2 separate regions of the Homo sapiens genome follow, and region 1 is linked to region 2. Evidence: promoter capture Hi-C in human tissues and cell types (Jung and others, 2019). All regions are on one chromosome and are shown on one strand. Each heading gives the region's core, a stretch centred on a gene start or on the middle of the fragment in contact. The rest is flanking DNA. Distances are from core to core; before and after follow the strand shown. Region 1 overlaps MASP1 (MBL associated serine protease 1). Region 2 holds the start of RTP2 (receptor transporter protein 2).

Evidence for each region. Contacts are between HindIII fragments. The study calls those that stand out against the background at their distance.
Region 1: a contact is called between a fragment that was not itself captured here and the fragment with the promoter of RTP2 in region 2, in 1 of the 25 tissues and cell types used here (mesendoderm cells).

The regions. Positions count from the first base shown.
Region 1 is chr3:187,241,684-187,247,105 of GRCh38, forward strand. It overlaps MASP1 (MBL associated serine protease 1), which reads right to left. Exons shown (of 11, transcript NM_139125.4): 9 at 1,801-1,938. Among named protein-coding and RNA genes, the nearest start is that of RTP1, 47 kb to the left of the region's middle. The HindIII fragment of the contact is 6,418 bases long and covers 1-4,592 here.
Region 2 is chr3:187,700,742-187,706,575 of GRCh38, forward strand. RTP2 (receptor transporter protein 2) reads right to left here and starts at 1,816. Exons shown (of 2, transcript NM_001004312.2): 1 at 1,224-1,816. The coding sequence starts at 1,387. LOC100131635 (hCG1645011-like) reads left to right here and starts at 1,625. Exons shown (of 3, transcript NR_034062.1): 1 at 1,625-1,798. The HindIII fragment of the contact is 10,678 bases long and covers 1-5,834 here.

The DNA.
Region 1 (5,422 bases), core at 134-2,633, 460 kb before region 2:
TCAGATACGATTGTCTCTGAGCCTAGATGTACTAAGAAGAATGAGGAAGAATGTGGCAGGTACTCTCTGGGATACAATCCTCCAAAGGGACCAATTAACCTCCAAATATCTTCAAATACCCACAGGGCTACCATCCTAGTCCTTCTATCAAACTCCCTTTGCAACATGAAGGATCTTTCTAAAATGGGAATGTGACCATGTCCTTTCTCAGCTCAGAATCACGAATGGCTTGCTGTCACCCCCAAAAATAAACACCACACTCTTCAGCATGGTGTCTGTCCAAAGCTCTGGGGAATCCCACTCCTGCCTGGCTGAGGGCTGCTCCCCTCCCCACCCCACGCTGCCCAGGTCCTGGAAGGCACCTCCGCCTCACTTGTCACAAAGACCTGGGCTCACATGGCTCCCTGTTGCACAGATGCCCTTTCCTTTCTTCTCCATTTGACAGACTCTTTAATAAGCATACATTTGTGGCCACCATCTCACTGGCATTTTGAAATAGCTCTAAGAGCTTTGTAACTCTTCCCTCTTTTAAAAATGAGGACTTGGGGCCAGGTGCAGTGGCTCACGCTTGTAATCCCAGCACTTTGGGAGGCCGAGGCGGGCGGATCACTTGAGGTCAGGAGTTTGAGACCAGCCTGACCAACATGGCAAAAGCGGGTCTCTACTAAAAATACAAAAATTAGCTGGGCATGGTGGCAAGCTTCTGTAATCACAGCTGCTTGGGAGGCTGAGGCGAGAGAATTGCTTGAACCCAGGACGTGGAGGTTGCAGTGAGCCGACATCACACCACTGCACTCCAGCCTGGGTGACAGAGTGAGACCCTGTCTCAAAAACAAAAACAAAAACAAAGAGGAGTTGGAGGCTTAGATGAGTCAGGAGAATGTTCTCAGTGCTTGCATGCCAGAGAGGCAGAGCCGATGGGCCCTCCTTTCTCCCTGAGAGTTCCTTTTCTGCTAGGGACTATGAGTGCATGTGAGCGGGTGTTGGGCTGCCACAAGGCAGGGAGAGGCGGGTTATGTCTCTAAGCATTTCTCCTCCCAGTTCCTCCCAAACCCCCAGTGTGGCCAATGGTCAGGTTATTGCTGGTCCTTCACCCTCTGGCCAGTGTGCTGCTGCCCAGCCCCTGGGGCAGCCAGGGGTCTCTGCCAGGTGGCATGGATGGGGCCTGGACAGGGACTGCTGTGGCTGTGCTTGAGCTGTGGTCAGGGGATATGCTGGGCTACCTGGGGAGACAGAGGATCCACTCCTCGCTCCCCAACCCTGCCTGGACCCCTGTCCGTACCAGGGGAAGAGGTCTTTGAAGGAAGGTCCCTTACCTGCTGAATGGGTCTGGCCTGGTGAGATGTTGCCCTCACCCAGAAGCCAAGGCAGAGTCTGGGTGAAGCAGTAATACTGGCCTTTTTTTGGAAACCCCAACTCAGCCTCAGACCACATGAAGGAGTTTAACTTGGGGGATTCCAGGCTTCCTTTAGGGTCTCGTTTCTTCTCTTAGTTGTGTCAGTGTGTGACTCCTTCACGCTCCCACCAACAACTCATTAGTAAATCAGTGCTAGCTTTAAAGTTAAAAACAAAAAAGCCTGCTTTTTGGTTTTGAGACTGTTTCTGCATCTCCACATGGACACAGTAACACAAGCTCATGAAAAGTGAGAACCTGAGATGTGTGAGTGACACGTTTTGCATTATCAGGCTCTACACACTTATGAGCAGTTCTTCCTTTCACAGCTGTCTCGGCCCCCAGTCCAACCCTGAGGCCCCGAGAGTGTGAAACGGGAGTGGGATGGCTTAGCATGGATGGCTTACCTGTGTTATTGTTGAGCATCTTGTAATAGGGCTCCTGACAGGAGTATTTGATCTCAGACTTGTATGTGGTGAGGTTGTTCCTTGTAGAGAAGGTGATCAGCCCGTGTTCCAGCTCTCCTGGGGCTCTACAGTCTACAACTGAGAGAGAAGAAGTGAGACCCCTCAACTGCCTTTTGCTCATCCTCCTTTGGCTATCTGATGGATCTATCTCATGCAGATGTACAGGTTGTGCACTGCACACAATTCCAGAAAGCAATGTTATAATGCCTCTGAAGGGCACCCCTGGGGTGTGCAGTGTACAGCCTGTGAAGCTACCCATGGTCCTGCTTTTGAGGTCTCTTCCATTCATTATGGTACTACTGTGTGGTCAACTCACCTGCCCAGTGTCAATTTTGGGTAGGGGAAGGTCTACTGAGGTTTAAGCAGACTCCAGTCTTTTACCCACCAGGGCCTCTTTCTTTTACTTCTAGTTTTATTGTGCAATCCTCTCTGCCTCTTCTGCCCAAGAATGAAGCCCTTGGCTTAGTGAGAAAACTCTAGCTGACATAAACTAAATAATCTTTTGTTCTTCTAGTCCCAATCCTAGGCTGAGTAACAGCAGCTAATGTGCTCACATTGGAGTTTGGCACAAAAAATAAAAAAACCCAGCTCCTGTATGAGTACACAGCCCCACCCTGCTGCCTCTCTACAGGCAGCTTGCTTGGCCATAGAAGCCAGGAGGCAGGGTTGGAGGTGGATCAGCTTTCAGTCTTCCCCTGTTCATTTTCTATAATTGTTGATGGCCGCATGTTTGAGCCATAATTCCCAGTACAGGACATGAATAAAGATGCCTGCTCCTCAGAGGTGGTCTTTGGGGAGCTTTCCAGTCCAGCTCAGTCTTAGGGGAGTTGTCAGCACTGATGGAGCCCAGTGTGAGTCAGCTGAGAGTCAGGGCATCTTTTCATGGCCATATCAGAGGCTCTGGACCCAAATTTGTCAATCTTTTCATTCTTAAGGAAATCCTAATCTTAGGTATAACAGCCTATGCCAGAGTCGAAGAATCATAGATGAATCATAGAATGTCACAGCTGGAAAGAAACCTGAAGTAGGCAATCTAGAATGTCCTCTTTATTTTATCTATGAGCCCAGAGAGGAGACTTGACTCGTCTAAGGACATACAGCAAGTTACTATCAGAATGAGAGCAAGATTTGACCTCAAACCCAGGGCTGTTTTAGTAAATGGAACTAGTGGTTCTTAAGGATCTGTTTTCCAGTTAAATGGCCTATTCTAGGTACTAGCTGGCCAATGGTGGACATCAACTGTCAGAATTTCCAGAGCCCTGGTAAAATTTCCAAAGTTCCATGTCCTCCTGAATTTTACCTGGTCATTTTGGGAAACAGTGAGATATAATTTATCCCTGAGTGCCATTTAGACATTGTGATTTTAACTTTAGGACTCCAAATTCATCTTTTTGATTAGCTAGAGAGTCCACTCAAAATGCAAATAATTTCAAGTCCCTCCGGGTTGGAGGAAAAGATGAAGGAGGGGAGTAAATATAGGTACTTCTTATCCACTAAGAAGGCCAATCAAGACAACTGGTTTTGTCCTGGCCTCTAGTCCAATCACCCTGGACAAATCATCTCCATTTGTTTTGATGATCCAAAAGTACAGATGCTCTTCTACTTTGTGAGGTAAATGTGTGCAGCTCAACACTAGGATAATGAGGCAATAATATTTATTATTTAAATACTATGAACAGTTTTAAATTTATTTTCTGTTAAAGCCGATTTTTCCTCCTTTTTCAGAAAATGCCATTGACTTGGTGCCTAGGTATTGGTATCACTCATCTCCCTTAACTTTGGTCCACCTGACCGCCCAGTTCAGGAATTCCAGGGTTGGCTTTAGTGTGGCTAGATGGACGGGCCCCTGGGAGCCTGTTATGTGGCTGATGCTGGCGGATAGATATTTTCTGGGTGGAGGACCTACTTTCACATCACTTCAGAGAAGTAACTTTGCCCACTGATACAGCTGGCCCTACAACTAGGTAGAGGGGGTGATAAATAGTGGAAGGTAGAGGGTCTTGGCAGTGTGGAGGGGCGTACTTTCTTCCCAAGTCCACAGTGGCAGGGAAAAAGCCATGTTTCTCTGGGACATGGAAGTGACTTAACCCCTCACAAGAGGCCTTGAGCAGCTCTGTCTGGCACAATCAGCACACACTAGACCCTGCTTCCTCCGTTGACTTATGCTCTTTGCTTTAGGAAGGGTTTTATCCTTTTCTCTAAAGTCCTGTCTGGCCAGTTCCGCACTCTGGAATCAAAACACCCTTCTCTTTCCCCTTGCCTTGGAGGTACCGCCCAACACCCTATCTCCATGGTAATTTCTTGTTGCCACTTATTTTTCTCCAGACACACATTTCTTGACCTACAGTTCCAAGTGTGCTTTGCTGTACTGGGGGGCTTTCTAGAGAACGATGTGCAATCAGCTAACCCTGGCACTCAGGCCTGGGGGTTTGGGCTCTAGCCCCCTCCCTGGCCTCATCTTCTTTCCTCCCCTTGGTGCACCCACCCTCCGAACACCAGCTCCTTCAGTGTGCTCCCCTGCTGCCTCCTGCTCCCAGGCCTCTCTGGTGCCATCCCTGCTGCACGGGGCACCCTGTGTCCATGCTCTGGCCACCCTGAAGTCCTGATGAAACACTCCTTCTTCTTGAAAGCCTTTCTAATTCTAACTGGGCAGGGCTGCTTCCTTGTTCTGGAACTCTTCACTCATGTTTCTTTGATGGAATATATCTAATGTTGTCTGCATCAAAGCTATTACAATTATTTGGGTACATATCAAATCTTCCTCTTAAATTCTGATGCCCTGTATGTCACTGAGTATGAATGCTGTTAATACGTTGTAGGTTTAAAGACATTTATTCAACTGACACTTGTCTTTAGTAGCCAGCCCATCTCTTCTTTGGGTGGTGTCTCTAGCCGAGAATGGCACCTCAGTCTCCAGACTGCCCAGGGTTCTCCCCTCACCGCACAGCCATTTAATCACCAAATAGATCGGGCAGTCCATTTAATGCAAAGATTCTCTGACATGTGTGTCCAGATGTTCAGACGGAAGCAGAGATTCCAGCTGCCACTCCCCAGCCCTTTCTCTATCACTGTTTAGGACCTGTGATGTCCCACAGCACAGAGCTGGGACCACTGCTTTCAGGTGTGATCCTATCTTTTTAAAATTTTTAATCAGCGAATTTTAAGAAACATAGAACTTGTAAGCCCCAGAAGACAGAACCTCTAATGATGACATTTCAGCCCTGCGCCAGATAGGGGTAGAAGGGATACTTTTGTGAATGAGAAAACATTCAGATTCTCAAAAATCCACACTCTGTGAGTTATTATTTGCTTTACCTACTCATGGTGGTTAAGAAAGCAGCAACAGGTAATACCTTCAGATTCATAAAGTCACAGGCAGTCTGGTTCATTTAAACTTGACATGTAGAATGGATTAGAAACCACTTTGATCTGGTCAGCCTGAGGCCACATGGTTGTATATTAAATCTTTTGTCTCAAGGACCAAGGGCATTTTTTTTTTCCGTTGAGAAAAGTACAGTCCACTCAGAGGTGCTAAAATAAATCCCACATTTTTTTTTCATTA
Region 2 (5,834 bases), core at 566-3,065:
AGAGACAGAAGCCCAGATAGTAAGAGAGGCATCCATGTACACACAGCTAGTTAGAGGCAGAGCCAGTGCTCAGCACATAACAGGTACCCAATAGATGCTTCTTGAGTTGATGGAACTGACATGAATCAGCCAACCTCTGGTTTTCTGTCTTTTTTTCACAAGGCAGGTTTACTCCAATAATTCCAGGTCTTGGGACAAGAGTACAAACGTAAGCTCCCTACCCACATCTTGCCTCCTCTGTTCCCACCCTCAGCACCATTCTGCACCATGAGAAGCTTCACACACATACACGTGAACAACCCAGCCTTTGTGTCCATGTTCTGGCTACATCTCCAGAGCACAGCCACTTACTGGCCTCTCTTGAATCCAAGGACACAGGAAAAAGGCCTGCACAGACACTACAGATGGACTTGAGGTAGTCTGGGGAGGAATTTCTGTAGTCCCAGTCCCCAATCATGATCTAAAAGGAGGAAAGGCATGTGGACTTTAGACGGCCTCGTCCCCTTGGCCTCAAGGACTCTTTGCCCTGTGGTAGATGTGCAGCTCCTATAAAGAGTGGGACCCTGGGCTCTAAGTTCCTAAAGAAAGTTTTGCTCAAAGCTAAATCTTTTTATCACAGGTGCATAGATAATAGAGCTAGAGTGGATTGGATCTATTATCTAAGACCAACCCCCTCATTTTGTAAATATAAAAACTGAGAGCCAGAAAGGGAAACAGACTTGCCAAGTTTACAAGGCTACTTAGCTATATAGAGCCAGTTCGTAGCACACAGCAGGTGGTCAATAAATGTTTATGTATTCAGATCAAATTGGATTAATTCACTAAACATATCTAGGAACAGAGCATAGCTGTACCCCCTGCATTCCCCCAACTCCTAGATTAAAACTTTCCCCAATGGACCTCATGGCCTCCTTCCTTCAGTTCCAACTCACTCTAAATGTCAGAGATTGCAGGGACATAGATGATATTACAGCTCTTCATTTAATGTGGACAACTAAGACCCAAAGATGGAACATAACTTTCTCAGGGTCACCCAGGGAGTTAGTGGTATTGCTAGGATTAAAAGCAAGAACTCTCTGACCCAGCCGGCTGTCTTTGTCTTTTTCCCCATCTGAGCTGACACCAGAATAAGCCCGCGACTGGGCTCTGTCTCTCCTTGGAAAGTACCCCACAGCTGTGACCCAGGGGCTGTCTGCAAGGTCCCTCCCCACTGAACCTCTCACCTGCCTGAGGCGTGCTGCTCCAGGTACTGCTTCCAGCCAGGGGCCAGCTCACTGGGCTTGAGGTTGGGGTCTATGATGAGCTCCCAGCTGTCCGCTGGCTTTGCCACCTCCATCTTCTCATAGAAGACTTTCTTCCACTCACAAGTGGTCAAGCTGGTACACATGGTCCTGCTGGCAGAGGTGGCAGTTCGAGCTCAGCCCTGGTGAGAACACAGAAAGAGCACGGATAGGTACGGGACAATTCAGTGTCTACGGTCAGAATCCTCATCGGCAGGACTGGGAGTAAACAGGACCCAGCTCCCTCCTCTGTTACCCTGGAACCTGTTACCATGGTAGCCAGGCAGGGCACCAAGAGTGAGGGCTGGGGAGAAGGGAAGCCCCAAGGGGGAGTTTCAGGGCCCTGAGTTAGGCTTCAGAGGCAGCGCTGGGTAGGCCTGAGAGGAGCAAGCACAGTGGGAGGCCCAACCTCAGACCACACTCATCTGGATTTCCAGAGGTCTCCAGGAGGCAAGGACTATTTGGTGGCCCTGCTTCACCCAACTGCTCTTCTAGCATTCTCCACATCATGTGCTATGGTAAGTACGACACCCTAGGAAGTCAAGGAGAAATGAGGGACAGGGAAAGGCAGAGCCTGCTGCTTCCACACCCCCTGATATGCTGTGACCATCACTTACCATGTGCCTAGCACAAACCGCTTGACCTGTGTGCTGGCCAAAGCAGATCAGATCAGGAAACTGAAGTTTATGCAACCCCTAAGTGGCTCATCCAAGATTCAGATCTAGGCCTTCTGAAACCGAGCTCATTTGTTTATTTATTTTAGTACTATTGTGCTCCTAACAGGGAATTGAGTGAGAAGTAACATCTCTTTGCCCAGGGCAATCTTAGACCAGTTGGTGAGCTAGAATGTAATTTCATATGCCATGCAAAGCACAGTAATAACATTTCAGATTCATAGCGTCATAGAACTGTTAGAGCCCATATTCAGTTCCTGGTCCCAAGCCAGGCTAAGGTGGCTGCTGGGGTAATGAGTTTGTTCTGTGCTGCAGGCTCCTGCTGCCTCCATTACTGCTGAGCTGGAGCAAGAGAGCATCCGTAGCTCTGTGATGCCCAATTCAAATTCTTTAGAAACCAGAGGGGAATCTGACTTCAAATTTGGTAATCCAAGTGAAGACACGGTTACCTGAAGGGAGGCTGCCTTGAGCATGGAAAAGACCAGGCATATGGCTGCTTACCCTAGCTTTGGTCCAACTTCCAACTGTAATCATCTTACGATTCTTTAACCCGGAAGTCTGGATCCCTAGACACGCAGAGTTCCAACAGTAAAGAGCTTCAAGAAGTGAAACAGGTTGCTAAGAACCGGAAGCTCTTGGTGTTGAGTTGCCAAGTGGTTTTCAGGAAGTGTGAAGTCAGGGACAATGTCACTGGATTCTCTCTTGAAATGAAAAGTGTTACTCTAGCGGCTTTGTGCTAAAGACCTCAGAAAGGACACAATTGTCTTTGAACCATTGACTGACAGCTCTAGAAGAGCTCTTTTATTTTTAAAAATCTGGTTTATTTCTTGAACTCTTCATTTCTTAACCAAAATTTATTGACATTGAATTAAAACAACTGAGGCCTGGAAATGGAAAATTACTGGCCCAGGCTCTCAGGACTGGGTAGCTCAAACCTCACTGGGGATTCCCTTAGAAGCCAGTTACCAGACCAGGTGAGACAGAGGGATCCATGAATGGCCAGGAACTGAACGAAGCTGAGATGAGCTTATGGCCTGGCCTAGACCCTCGTGCCAGGAAAGAACCTCTGAGAAATAGTATACCCTTGTTCCCAGAACAAATGGCAATAAAGGAAAAACAGAAAGAGGATGAGAATTGTCAGGGTTTACCTGTATTTTCTTTTTTCCTCAAATAATGCAATCCCCTTAGGCCTAGTATCAGGTTTAATTTAGCATAGCAGCTTCTAAGCAGAGACCAATAGAATTCATCTTTCTGTGTAACAGCACTGTTTTCACTTTTCATACAATCAGTGAGCACAATTACTACTTCAATTTTCCGCGAATGACACTATCTTATTCCAGAACCCACGATTTAAGAGCTCACAAATGTATATTGTGTACAGCTGTGGCCACATCACACTCTGGCAGCTTCATTATACATATTTTGTCTAGGCAATACTTTTTCAAATAAAGAAATTGTTATTTCTTTATAAAATAAAATACTGAGCACCTGTATTCTGCAAACAAATCAGCAAGGGGGAGGGGATGGATAAAAGAATCACTTTTCCCCTTCAATTTGGAATGCAAGTTAATGAAGAGCTTTGTAAAATATTTATTATTCAATTTTACTTATTAGAGTAATGTAAGAAATGCCAGTGTGGAGCTTAAAATGACAAAGTAATGAAGAGTTGAAAAGGTGTGTACATCAAAATCACCTGGAGAGTTCTGAAAACTGTATACACCTCTGCTTCAGAGATTTCAATACATGTTCTTGAGGAGACAAATTTGCTCTCCACCTACTCCAGTCCTGGGAAGAATCCCTTCTATTGCCAGCCATTGTTACTGATGGGATATGTTGTCCCACAGGCTACTGGAGGCCAAAAATGAAAAACAAAAAAAGAAGATTGAGTAAAATGAGCTAGTGGTTTATAATATTTCTTTACCAGGAAATAGATCCAGGACAAATGCAAGGTGTGTCCTATCTTCTCCTGTGTCTCCGCAATTCAAAGAACCGTAGACGATGCTATAGGGCGAATCCAAGATCCCCTGGGGAGTATTTTCAAGAGATATTAGGAAGGCCTCTCCATCCCCAGGATGTAGCACTTAGCGACAGCATGGTCCAAGCTCCCACTCTTTGGGTGGGAGCTGACCTCTGAATCTCAGGGGAGGCCACACAGAGCAGTCCATGGCTCTCTAATAGTGGCACATAGTGGAATCTTCCCAGGAAGATTTTACGCTGCCCTTTTATTAATTGGCAGCAACCAGAGCAACTGCAGGCAAGTGACATTCTGTTTCTGCTGGTGTCCAAGGGCCCAAATTCTGTGCACCATGCTTCCCAGCACCCCAAAGGCTCTGGAATCTGTATTAAGAGTGACTATATCTACTTATCCTTTTTTCCGGGTCTTATTATCCTAGATAGAGATTTGGTGACGAATCTATTATGGGATGTAAATACATAAAAAGACAGATAGAAATAGGGTGTGCTCCATGCAAGGGAGAAAAAAAAAAGATAGGGGTTGAGTTAGGAAGGAAGAATATAGAGGGTCTGGGGACACTTTCAGCAGGTACAGCCTATGCTGCTTCTGTCCAAGAGGCTGAGGGCCTTCATCAGAGTTCCTTAGCTATACTCAGAGAACCTGCTAGTTTCTGTTGAGCTGAGGCTCAACACACACAAAAATAGCCATGACTCATCTCTGGGACACTCCTAGCCATCAAGGCAGGGTGAAAAGGGAGCATGGGATAGATTGTGCTGGCTTTTAAAGCATCCATTCTAAAAATGACAAGGCTGGGGTCAATATCCTGGGCAGACTTTTAAAAATATATATCTTTCCTTTTAAACACACATTTACCCAGTAGAACATTTGTAGTTCCAGGGCTTTCCAGGAGACACCAATTCACATAAGGAAAGGACCCATTAAAGCTGAGTCCATTCCTGAGGCAAGTCTCTCACGATAAATAGAACGAATTTTACCTTGAGTATCTATCTTTAGGAAACAGGTCACCTTCCAAAGACTGATGGGGATTCCTTGATGAGCAGTCAGAAAGGCTGTTTGGCCCCAACACTTAGCTCAGTTAACTTCCTTGGAGACTTTACATTCCCAGAATTGACTATGTACTTCAATTTACATGGGAGTGAGAAGGGAAAGGACTAATACACTCATTAGTATTGTATTTACCCTTAAGGCTGGATACTGACTTTACCCTTTTTCTTATCCAAAAATCAAGATAAAATTGTTCAAGTGCATAAAATTGGACAAACATTACATAGATATTGCATAAACAGGCAGTTAAAAGCCCCCAGTAAAGATTTAAACAGACCACTTAGCTCTGACATTGGAACCAGAAGATACACAGTCAATAGGAGTCACAGGCCCAAAATGATCAGGCTTTGCTTAGAGTTAAGTTAAATATGCTAGAAACACTTCAATTTATTTCCCCAGTTGTCAAACAATTGGAAAGAGCATAACTACACACTATAAAAATGCTTTCTTACTCCCAAGGATAAGGCAGGTAGGTTTTATAGTAAAACAAAGCATATGAGACGCAGATCTTACATGAGATGTAAAACAAATATGTTAAACGAAGATGTTTTACATGAGATGTAAAACAAAGCATATGAGATGCAGATCTTTATATTTCTCAGTAAATTTGAGCTTTCTTGATATATGCTTATAGACACTATAGTTAAAAAGCTACATTTCTTGCAAAGTCCCAAGGTAAATATAAGTAAAGCTTGGGAAGAGAGAATTCTACAAGAAAACCCACTGACCAGAATAAAAAGAATTTTAAAACAGAAAGATCCCTTGATTAGTGAAACAAGAAAATGGCCACAACTACAAGCCAGAACAATTATAGTTAAATTTGGATATAGAGTGGGAGCACATGAAGAACCAATGCATGCC